Linked DNA regions of Homo sapiens: all the other regions are linked to region 2. The links are contacts of gene promoters, found by promoter capture Hi-C in blood cells and fetal thymus (Javierre and others, 2016). All regions are on one chromosome and are shown on one strand. The core of a region is centred on a gene start or on the middle of the fragment in contact, and the rest is flanking DNA. Distances in the headings are between cores, read along the strand shown. Region 1 holds the start of CCDC106 (coiled-coil domain containing 106). Region 2 holds the start of TMEM86B (transmembrane protein 86B). Region 3 overlaps ZNF784 (zinc finger protein 784).

Evidence for each region. Contacts are between HindIII fragments. The CHiCAGO score rates a contact against its expected background, and 5 or more counts as called.
Region 1: a contact is called between the fragment with the promoter of CCDC106 here and the fragment with the promoter of TMEM86B in region 2, in 6 of 17 cell types (naive CD4 T cells, total CD4 T cells, non-activated CD4 T cells and 3 more). The highest score is 7.6, in naive CD4 T cells.
Region 3: a fragment that was not itself captured here is called in contact with the fragment with the promoter of TMEM86B in region 2 in 2 of 17 cell types (erythroblasts and megakaryocytes); the score reaches 6.2 in erythroblasts.

What each region holds. Positions count from the first base shown.
Region 1 is chr19:55,646,284-55,649,783 of GRCh38, forward strand. CCDC106 (coiled-coil domain containing 106) reads left to right here and starts at 1,929. Exons shown (of 5, transcript NM_001370470.1): 1 at 1,929-2,794; 2 at 2,922-3,026; 3 at 3,125-3,301. The coding sequence starts at 2,764. RefSeq lists silencers at 2,005-2,124, 2,155-2,284 and an enhancer at 3,345-3,394. The HindIII fragment of the contact is 17,145 bases long and covers 984-3,500 here.
Region 2 is chr19:55,226,293-55,230,012 of GRCh38, forward strand. It overlaps TMEM86B (transmembrane protein 86B), which reads right to left and starts at 2,471. Exons shown (of 3, transcript NM_173804.5): 1 at 2,399-2,471; 2 at 1,899-2,145; 3 at 346-1,271. The coding sequence starts at 2,449. The coding sequence ends at 889. It overlaps PPP6R1 (protein phosphatase 6 regulatory subunit 1), which reads right to left. Exons shown (of 24, transcript NM_014931.4): 24 at 3,487-3,720. The HindIII fragment of the contact is 5,765 bases long and covers 789-3,720 here.
Region 3 is chr19:55,617,673-55,621,485 of GRCh38, forward strand. It overlaps ZNF784 (zinc finger protein 784), which reads right to left. Exons shown (of 2, transcript NM_203374.2): 2 at 3,069-3,813. Among named protein-coding and RNA genes, the nearest start is that of ZNF784, 5.0 kb to the right of the region's middle. The HindIII fragment of the contact is 1,799 bases long and covers 1,160-2,958 here.

The sequences.
Region 1 (3,500 bases), core at 679-3,178, 420 kb after region 2:
TTCAGCCTCCCAAGTAGTTGGGGTTACAAGCGTGTGCCACCATGCCCAGCTAATTTTGTACCTTTAGTAGAGATGGGTTTCACCGTGTTTGTCAGGCTGGTCTCGAACTCCTGACCTGAGGTGATCCACACACCTCGGCCTCCCTCAGGGCACTAGGCCTCGAAACAAAAGTTTTTTTTTTTTTTTTCTTTTGAGACGGAGTCTTGCTCTGTCGCCCAGGCTGGAGTGCAGTGGCGCAATCTCGGCTCACTGCAAGCTCCGCCTCCCGAGTTCATGCCATTCTCCTGCCTCAGCCTCCTGAGTAGGTGGGACTACAGGCGCCCGCCACCATGCCTGTCTAATTTTTTGTATTTTTAGTAGAGACAGGGTTTCACTGTGTTAGCCAGGATGGTCTCGATCTCCTGACCTCGTGATCCGCCCCCCTCTGCCTCCCAAAGTGTTGGGATTACAGGCGTGAGCCACTGCGCCCGGCCCACAAAAATTTCTTTACCATAGTTAGCTTTAGTTTGTGCATTTTTTTTTCCATCAACTATTATTATTACTATTTGAGACGGAGTCTCGCTGTGTCGCCCAGGCTGGAGCGTGGTGCGATCTCGGCTCACTGCAACCTCCACCTCCCCGGTTTAAGCGATTCTCCTGCCTCAGCCTCCTGAGTAGCTGGGATTACAGGTGTGCACCACCACGCCCGGCTAAATATTTTTTTAAACTGCTGATTTCATCCTATTCTATTGAATTCTCCACCCATGAACCTGTAGTTTGGAAAAGACCAATCTAGGGCAGATGGCTCCCCCTGGAATTTTTGGACCAGGCTGCAGTTAATCTGTAAAGTGGGGAGGGGAGGATCATGGTCACAGCTTTGCAGGCGGTGCAGACATTTAGATTCTCCCTCCATCGGGTTAAGACCTTGCTCTTATAAGGGCTGGCCACAGTCCAGAGCTTGGATGCTTCTGGTGAACAGGAGAGGCAGGTGGAGCTGAGCCTGAAGCTTAATAAACATCTGCTTATTCATTCATTTTTCTTGCCTATTTTGTGCCAGGCACTGTGCTAGGCCTCATTTGCTCTTCCGACCTGTTTTTTTGGGAGGAAGAACAAATCTTCCGTTCATACTCCCCAGAGTGGGAAAGAGCCTCCCAGAGGCTGCCATCATACCCCACCATCTGACCTCAAATAATACCAGCAGCGCTCCTCTCTTCAGCCCTGACGATGGCCAGGTGCTGGGCTGAGCTTCTGTGTGTCGCATCACTGCATCCTCACAATAAATTTAGAAGGGCTTGTAATTTCCCCATTTTGCAGGTGAGTTAACAGGCTGGGGAGGAGCAGGAACAGTCAGGACTGGAATCTAGCTTTGCTCCAAAGCCAGCTCTTAATTACCAACATGGGGATGGGGGTGGCGTGTTCCTGGCCCTCATTTTCCGGGAGAGGGGTAACTCCCCCGATTTTGGCCCCCACATCCCTGAGAACCTTGGGGTCTGGCTGTAGGAGGTAGGGGAGCTCTGAGGGGTCCGCGCTGGCTAGTTCCTGAGAGAGCGTTAAAAGTAGATTCTCCTTTCGCTCCAACTTTCTCGGTGTCTCAAACACTCTCCTGCCTTCTGGGCCCATTGGGCACACCGCCACCCAATCCGGGGACCCCCGGAGACTCGCCAGCTCTCCAGGATGGGAATTTCGTGATGTTCCCTGCCTGAGCTTCGGGGAGGGCGGGGGAGTGCTGTAAGGGGCTATCGCGCAAGTGCAGACCCTCTGCTTCTGCCGCAAACGGCGGGCCTCACCTGGACCCGGGGACTCTTCAACGAGGGGCGCTAGCCTGGCCCGACTGGGCGAGTCCCCGCGTCCCTGCCCGTTCCGTCGCTCAGTTCCACGACACGCTCCCCTGCCGCCCCGCCTGTTCGCGGGTGGGTGGGCGCTTCCCTCGGCTCCCCGTGACACTTTGCAGACGCTCCCCGGCGCCGGGCATGGGCGCCGCCGCCGTCGGTCCCCGAGCCGGATTCCGCGAGCGGGTGGGTGAGCGCGGGGGGCCTCGGCCCCTCGGACCCCGGGCACCCGCGGGCGGGGGATGGTGGCCGCGTTTGCACCCCCGCCCTAGTGCATGTTCCCGCTGGAATCGTTCCACGACCGCTCCCCCTCCCACCCGCGGGACAAAGGGCGGGGGCGGGGGGGGCGCACCCCCACGCGTGACCTTTCCCCGTACTGCGCACGCGCCCAGCCCCCACCACCGGGGGACGGTCCGCCCGCCCACGCGAGTGCGGGGGAGGGGTGTGGGGGCCCCGAAGGTAGAGGAGGCAGCGCGCACGGGCTGGACCTCCTCCTACCCTGGGAAGTTGGGGCAGTTTCCCCCTGCACCTGCCTCTTCCTTAGGCCTGGCAGTGGCCCGCGATGAGAGAGGGTCCTTCCCCTTCAGGCTAGGTGTCCCTGGTCAGGCGACCCCTTGGGGCACCCAGCAATTTAGGGCTTCAGCTTCCTTTTCCTTCGATACCCAGGAGCCCACGTCCCCAGCTCACTTCTCCCCCAGGACCTAGGCGGCTGGGCCCCCTGCCCCTGACTCCAGGAGCCCAGGAGTTTGAAGCCCAGGCGCGTTTTGCCTCAGTCCTGGGGTCCAGGCTCCCTCCTCCCTCAGACCAGGGGTCCAGGCCAGAAGGTCCCTCCTGTCTCACTTCACCTCCCCCAGGATGGACCCTCCAGTCCATCTGCGTCTCTCCATTTGTGGCTGCCGTTTCTGTCCAGTGCCCCTGAGGCCCTCGGCTGCTGGGGTCCGTAGGAAGCCGCGCCATGAATGACCGGAGCAGTCGGAGGCGGACAAGTGAGGAAGCTGGGTCCCCTTCCCTACCCTGGGTCCCAGTGCGGTCGGCTCCAGGCTGCCGTGGTTGGGGGGTGGCCTGAGAGGCCCGGGGAATTCTCTGGGGTAACCCGGGGCCTCTCCTCTCCAGTGAAGGACGATGAGACCTTCGAGATCTCCATTCCCTTCGATGAGGCACCCCACCTAGACCCACAGATCTTTTACAGTCTGAGCCCCTCTCGGAGAAACTTCGAGGGTGAGCTGAGGGGGTGTGGAGGGACTGGAGTCAGCTGGGAAGCCAAGCCCTGAGTCCCAGGGTGTGACCTGGTCCCCCCACCCTCGCTGTGTCCCTAGAGCCTCCGGAGGCTGCGTCCTCCGCCCTGGCTCTGATGAACAGCGTCAAGACCCAGCTGCACATGGCTCTGGAGAGGAACTCCTGGCTGCAGAAGCGCATCGAGGACCTGGAGGAAGAGAGGGACTTCCTGCGGTGCCAGCTGGACAAATTCATCTCTTCTGCTCGGATGGAGGCAGGTGTGTGTGGGGTGCTCTGATCCACATGCCTCCCTGTCCCGCTACTGGGTACCCGCTCACCCAGACTCAAGGCTCCACTGTTTGGCTGGCTGGGTGGGACCTGCCATGTTGGCCCTATCTGCTAGTCCCCTGCCTGTTTTGGGCCCCCAGGCCCAGCTGCCTCCTCACTTGATTCCAGGGCCTCATCCCCATGAACTGT
Region 2 (3,720 bases), core at 1,221-3,720:
CCTGGGTTTAGGGTGGGCCCTAAATCCAATGACCTGTGTCCCTAGAAGGATGCGGACACAGAGGGAGGCTGCCAGTTGAAGACAGTCACATGAAGACGGAGAGACACAGCCACAGGCCGATGGAAGCCAGGGATTCCCGGGAGCCTCCAGAAGCCGAGAGGGCAAGGACGGATTCTTCCCTGGAGCCTCAAGAGGGACCATGGGCCGGAAAACACCCGGATTTTGGACTTTGGGTCTCCAGAACTGCAGGAGAGTCCATTCATCTTGTTTCAAAGCATCTGGCTTGGGGTAATTTGTGACAGCAGCCTCAGGAAACTAACACAAAGACCAAACAGTCCTCTTGGCTCAGTTCTGCACAATCCTCACTTTATCCCCCCGAATCCCCCCACCAGAGGGCCATGGAGGGTCCCACTGGGCACCAGGCCTGGTCCATGGGGAGCGACAAAGAACCTTCTGCTGTCATTAACCGCGATGGTTTATCACAATCATGACCCTCCCCGAGGCCTCTCCTACGGTAACAGCAACATCTACGGTTCCACACCCACAGGGAAAACGGATTCAGAGCAGCAGCAGGGGGCGGGCAGGCTGTGGGGCCGACAGTGAACATGGAGGCAGGCTGGTGGCTGGGAGGGCTCCATGTGGGCCTGGCTGAGGAGCCAGGGATCTGGAGTCAGAACCGGGGGAAGGCAGCTGGAACCCAGTAGTGGACTTGGAATTCCGCAAATCGTCCTCAAACGTCTTCAGCCAGAAGCGACGGCGGCAGCGGCGCCTGCAGACAGGCGTCAGGAAGCTTCGCTGCTGAGGGTATTTCTCAGGCTGGGCTGGGCTGGGAGGCCCAGGTCCTTGCAGGAGGAGAGGGCCTGAACACCGGCCCTTCAAGCTCCCTAGTCAGTCAGTCTTGGGCACCGGGCTCCTGAGGGCTGACAGTGTGATGAGGAGCTGGGCAGCATAGTAGGTGGTCATGATCACCAGGTGGGCATGGGGCAGGGGCTGGGCGAAGGTGTCCCAGGCCAGCACGCCATCAGAGAGCGTGAAGAGCAGCGCGCCCCAGCCGGCACTCCCGCCCTGGGCCAGGCCGCGCCACAGCATGGCCATCAGGATCAGCCCATAGGCTGCCACCGGCAGGACCATATCCGGCTCGAGGTGCTGGAGCACAAGGCTGAGGTAGGGGCCAGGGGCCAGGATGATGAGCAGCAGCAGGCCGGGCTGCAGGGGAGAGAAGCCGAAGGCCCAGACGTAGAGGAGGTGGGCGGTGGCAAAGGCGGCCATGCCTGGCGGGAGAGGGGTGGGGTACCAGTGAGGAAGGCCCATCCTGGGAATGGCCCCGAGGTCACCCCTCAGGGCCTAAGAGAAGGACCATCCCAGAGCACCAGGCCCCACCCTGGCCGAGCCTCCTTGCAGGTCTCCCCACATGCAGTGTCCATCCTTGCTCTGCTCAGAACTGCCAGGAGGCCCCACCTTCCCTTGGCCTCCAAAGCCCCATGGCCTCCAGCTCTCCAGCCACTCTGCGCCAGCCACCCTGGCCTGCTGGGCTACAAGCACCTGACACGTCCCTGCCCCGGAGCCTTTACACTCGCCCTTCCTCCACACAGGCATACAGCCCTTCAGCTCTGCCCAAATGTGACTTCCTCAGTGAGGCCTTCCTCAGCAACCCTGCTTCAAACTGCAGTACCTCCAGCAGGTCCTCACTGCCCTCTGCGCCACCTCAGCTACTGCCCTAACACCGCCTGCCCCCACCCCTCGCTGGAGCGTGAGCTGCCTCGGTCACGGCTGCGCCCCCCACTGTGCCTTTGACCACTGGAGCTCTCACAGGAGCCCTCTGCACCCAGGCTCCCATCCAAGTGCTGGGGCCTCTCTCACACGGGCATCTGGAAAGCGTCACAGCACCTTCCACTCACCAGGGACGAAGGCTGCCGGCCAGATGAGGCAAGCGTCCCCCACAGCCGAGCACACAAGGGCTCCCTGGAGGAGCTGGGTGTAGCCCCCGCTTGGGGACATGACCCACAGGAACCCAGCCAGGCAGAGGACGGGCAGGCACTTGACCAGGGCAGCGAACCAGGACAGCTGGTCCTCGGGAATCCAGAGGCAGAAGTACACGCAGCAGGAGAGGATGAAGGGGCTCAGCCACCTGCAGACATCTGGGCGCTTTGGGGAGTGGGGAGCTACTGAGCCGAAACCCAGCCCAGCCCCCATTCTTGGGACTCAGATCTCATGGCTCCTGTCCCACCCCCACCTGGGACCCCAGCTGTACAGGCTGGACCCATTCAGGGACCAGGCTGCCAGAACCCAGCTTCCCAGGGCCCAACCAACTCAAGGACAGCAGCTCCCAGACCCGCCGGCTGCTGGGGTTCCAGGGCCCTGTCCCCCCAGCCCCAGGCACAGCTCAGAAGGCTCTCACCTGGGCTGAGCAGTGAGTCTTCAGGGTCTGCCCCGCTTTGCCAGCGTCCATGCTGGCCTGATAGCCCCAGAGCGACCTAATCTGGGAGCGAGTGGCTTCAGGGGGTGGAGGGGAGGGCTCATGGTTACACGTTAACCCAAGGAGCGTCCTGTGGACTCTGTGACTGATAACAGGGCCCAGGGAGATGTTGTCCTCACCCTGGGGATGGCCCTGCCTGGCGCCCGCTGATAAAGCACTGTTGGCACTGGGGGTCCCTCTGCCCTAGCCTGCTGGGACATGGCTTCCTCCTCCTATCTGCCTGGGGAGGTTAGGCCCACAAATGCCTGTCCCCTTGTCCTGGGCCCCAACAATCAGAAGAGATGGGGTGCAGAATTCCAACAGCCACCCCATCATGGGAAGCGGGAGAGGGGCTGGCTGGCAGGAGTGCCCCTGGAGGGATGGGAAGGCGAGTCTGTCCTTCACTTGCTGCCCTAGCCGTCTCCCTCCCTGCTCCATGAAACCTTTCCTCATTCTGCTCAACCCCACCAAGCCCTCAGGGGCTCCACCACAAACACTGCTTCAATGGGTGACCAGGAGGGACCACCACGAATGCGGGGAACAAGCACCCTCTCCTGTTAGCTGAGCGAGCCCCCAGGTGACCTCCAAGCCAACTGCCACCCCAGTGAGGACGCTGTCCTCATGGCCCGGTCCACACGCTCCGGTTTCCCAGCGCCGCTCACCGGTGCCACTCGCTGCACACGCAGCCTACACTTCTACCTTCTACCTGAAAGACTCAGACCTACTGGGCGCCAGTACCCAGCCTCAATGCTGGGCTTGGTTACTGGGGGTAAGCAGGGGCAGGAGCAGGGATTTGAGCCTGTCGGTGGCTTCTATCCTCTGCCCAAGGCCCTGCCCACAGGTGGGGTAGACCTGGCAGGAGCCCTCACAGCCAGTGCCTGGCCCAGCCTGGGGCCTCTGCAGCCACAGGGCTCCCTCTGGCAGGACAGTGTGGGGGCAGACTGGGTCAGGAGCACCCCCAGCCTCTGGGGTGCAGGGATAATACAGGCTCCCCACCCCGCATCCCAGAACGTAAGGTCTGACCAGCAGAATCGTAAACTGCCTTCCTTTATTTATATTTGCAATATGAAATAGAAGCTCGGCACAAACGCACGCACACTCACACCAGCCTGGGAGGAGGGAGCTGGGGACAAGGTCACTTGGCAACAGGGCTGGGACCTCAGACCCTCAAGGCCCCTGGGGCTGTTGCCGGGGAGGCCCCTGCTCCCCAGAGCCGGACTGGCCTGGTTGAAAGTGCAGGGTCTGGGCAAAGGCACGGCCCCCAC
Region 3 (3,813 bases), core at 809-3,308, 390 kb after region 2:
CTGCCTCACAACCATGTGCAGACTGATGGTCATGATACAGCTCCCTCTTAGCACTTGTCCTCCAGGGTAATGATTGGGAGATTCAAAAGCCCGTTCACAGCTCTCATGTTGGCTCTGGGAACAGCAAGATGTATGCCTGGCAATGTGTGTTTAGTTATCTCATTTGTTAGAAGAAGGGCCTGGGGTCCTGAAGAACAAAGGTGCTCCAGGGACATCTCAAAAATCCACAGAATTTGGACTCCAGGCCAGGCATGGTGGTTCACGCCTGTAATCCCAGCACTTTGGGAGGCCGAGGCGGGCAGATCACTTGAGGTCAGGCGTTTGAGACCAGCCTGGCCAAAGTGGTGAAACCCCATCTCTACTAAGAATACAAAACTTAGCTGGACATGGTGGTGGGCATCTGTAATCCCAGCTACTCAGGAGGCTGAGGCAGGAGAATCACTTGAACTCAGGAGGCAGAGATTGCAGTGAGCTGAGATCGCACCACTGCATCCAGCCTGGGTGACAGAGTGAGACTCCATCTCAACAAATAAATAATTTGGACTTCAGTCCCAGAGTACTTCAGTACAGAAACTTGAAGATGAGGCCAGGTGCAGTGGCTCATGCCTGTAATCCCAGTACTTTGGGAGCCCAAGGCGAGCAGATCACCTGAGGTCAGGAGTTCGAGACCAGTCTGGCCAACATGGTGAACCATCCTTTCTACTAAAAGTACAAAAATTAGCTGGGCGTGATGGCAGGTGCCTGTAATCCCAGCTACTCGGGAGGCTGAGGCAGGAGAATCACTTGAACCCAGGAGGTGGAGGTTGCAGTGAGCTGAGATTGCGCCACTGCACTCCGGCCTAGGCGACAAGAGCGAGATTCCATCTCAAAAAAAAAAAAAAAAAAAAAAAAGGAAAAAAAGAAACTTGAAGATGAAACTAGGTAAGAGCGCTGCTTGGGTGAGTCCTGTGTGACCCATGGGAGAGCAGCTACCCTGTGTGGCTCCATGTTCTAATGCTGAAGACCCAGCATGAGACAGACGTTGTGCCAGTGCCCCCAGGGTTCAGGGTTCAGCAGTAACATGGAAATGGAGCCTCACAGTGTAAGGGACTTGGAAGTATCACTAGGGCTTGAGGGAGCACAGAGGAGTCACCTGTCAGAGTGGAAGGGGGGCTAGAAAAGCTTCTTGGGGAGAAGGTGATCCCTGAACGATGACATAAACCAACTGGAGTTTTCCAGGTAAAGAAGTGGCAAAGAGGCCGGGCACGGTGGCTCATGCCTGTAATCCTAGCACTTTGGGAGGCCGAGGCAGGTGGATCACGAGGTCAGGAGCTCCAGACCATCCTGGCTAACACGGTGAAACCCTGTCTCTACTAAAAATACAAAAAATCAGCCGGGTGTGGTGGTGGGAGCAGGTGGCAGGCGCCTGTAGTCCCAGCTACACGGGAGGCTGAGGCAGGAGAATGGCATGAACCCAGAAGGCGGAGCTTGCAGTGAGCCGAGATCATGCCACTGCACTCCATCCTGGGCGACAGAGCAAGGCTCTGTCTCAAAAAAATAAATAAATAAGAAAAAAAAAAAAAAAAAGAAGTGGCAAAGATTTCCAGGCGGAGAGTTTAGTGTGTTGAACTAAACCCTGCTATTCTGGAGCATTTAAGACAGATTAGTATGGCTGGAGGTTGGGTTCCTGGGGGCTAAACCCTGAAGGGTCTTGAATTCCAAACTGTGGGGCTTGGGTGATTTTATAGGCTAGAGGCTGGAAACTGGCAGCTGCAAGGCCGAATATGACCACTAACACATTTTTGTTTAGTCTGTGCATTTTTTAAAAAGTTTGACTTGACTGCCAACATTGGGAAATCAAAAGATTTTACATAATGTGAACTAATGGAACTTCTGAAAGAAACTGGAAGATGTGGCAACCCAATCTGTGTTCCGGAGCTGAGCAGCCATTACCCTCTTCTGAAGAGGCACTCTCCAATTTGTTGAATACCAATTCTGAGACCTGGTGGCAATCGCCATTATTTCATGTTGCTGATATTTTCCCCTTGAACCTGGCCGTCTTGCTCGTGTATTTACATTTTCACCCAGCTCCTGTAGGCATTCACATTTCCAAATCGTCTCAAAGCCACAAGGAGCTGTGTCTTGGTGACAAGGATCTGCATGGATGCCATATGGAGAATGAAGAGGGCAGGTGGCCGGGTGCAGTGGCTCACGCCTGTAATCCCAACACTTTGGGAGGCCGAGGCGAGTAGATCACCTGAGGTAAGGAATTTGAGACCAGCCTGGCCAACATGATGAAACCCCATCTCTACTAAAAATACAAAAATGAACTGAGCGTGATGGCGCCCACCTGTAATCCTAGCTACTCAGGAGGCTGAGGCAGAAGTGCTTGAATCCAGGAGGCAGAGGTTGCAGTGAGCAGAGATTGTGCCATTGGACTCCAGCCTGGGCAACAAGAGCAAAACTCCATCTCAAAAAAAAAAAAAAAAAAAAAAAAAAAAAAAAAAAAAAAAAAAAATGCAGGCACTGGACTGCTGTGCAGTTGTCTGTGTGTGAGACCACTGTTGGTCTACAAGTGTAGTGATGCCGAAAACACGTTCCAGTTCCAAAGATATTAACTGGCTCAACTGAGGGAAACTGATAAGGGACTGGACATAAGAATGAGGATGAAGAAGGTTTAAACCTGCCCAGGTATCCAGCTTGGGTGGTGGTGCCAATGACATCAGAAGCATGGAGGTTTCTTTGAGGAAAATGGAATGAGTTCTGTTCACATTGTGAGTTGCCTGTGAGTTATCTCATGGGGCCCACTGGGTGAACAGAAAGGTGTGCAAATCAGAGGCTCTCACTCAACAAGCATGCAAAGCATGTTGAGTGTGCTTTTGCCAAACTTCCCTGACCCCCCTCTCCTACAGCTGAACCACATAACACGTAACCACAGTGGGGCCTACTCACCCCCCATTCTGATGATGGGGAAACAGAAGCTTGGAGGAAGAGATGATGCAACTGACTGCTGGTGGCAAAACCATGGTGAGGCCCCTCCTCCCCCAACTCCCCAAAGCGGACAATCCGAATACAAGACCGACAGAGAAGCCCTTCAGAAGGTCCTTTAATAGGAACAGAACTGAAGGTGTCACACCTCCAGCTCCCAAGTCCTCCTCTCGCCCCCACCACAGTGACTCTTTCACTCCACACCCAGGCCAGCCCACCATGCTGCCATCAGCCAGCCCGCCCTTGGGATTGGCGGGGACTAGGCAGTAAGCTGTTTGCTTCGAACTGGGAGTGGAGGAAATTAGAGAAACCTGAGGCTACCTTGAGGCTTGTGGGGGACCCTGGGCTCTGAGTCTAAAGCTTTAGGAGGGGGATGCTAGGTAGCTGCTTGCTTTATGTGTTCTCAGTTGCCTCCGAAGAAGAGTGGATGGGTTAAGGACGGACCACAATGGGGGTGGGGGTTGCCGCTGTTGGAGTCAAGATCCTATGGTCAGGCTTACATCCTTGAGGCTCAAGTGCTCTCAGCGGTGACTTGGGGACCCTCTGGCTTTGAGGTGATGGGATCCCAGAGTCTCTTCACAGATAACCTGGTGAGTGTCTTCTGCCAGAGGGTGGATAGGCATCCCAGGTCCAGTGCAATGCAGTGAGGTAGGCAGGAGACTCCATCCTGGTCCACCCGTGGAGGACCAGAGCAGAAGACTATGGTGGACCCCAATTCCCCCCTTCCATTCGATCCTGGCTCCTCCTCTGAAGTGCCCAGGCTCTGTCGTGACAGGCTGGGTCTTGCACAAGGACAAGCCAACCAAGAGACAGTCGGGGAAGTGACATCCAGCCCGTGGGCCTTGC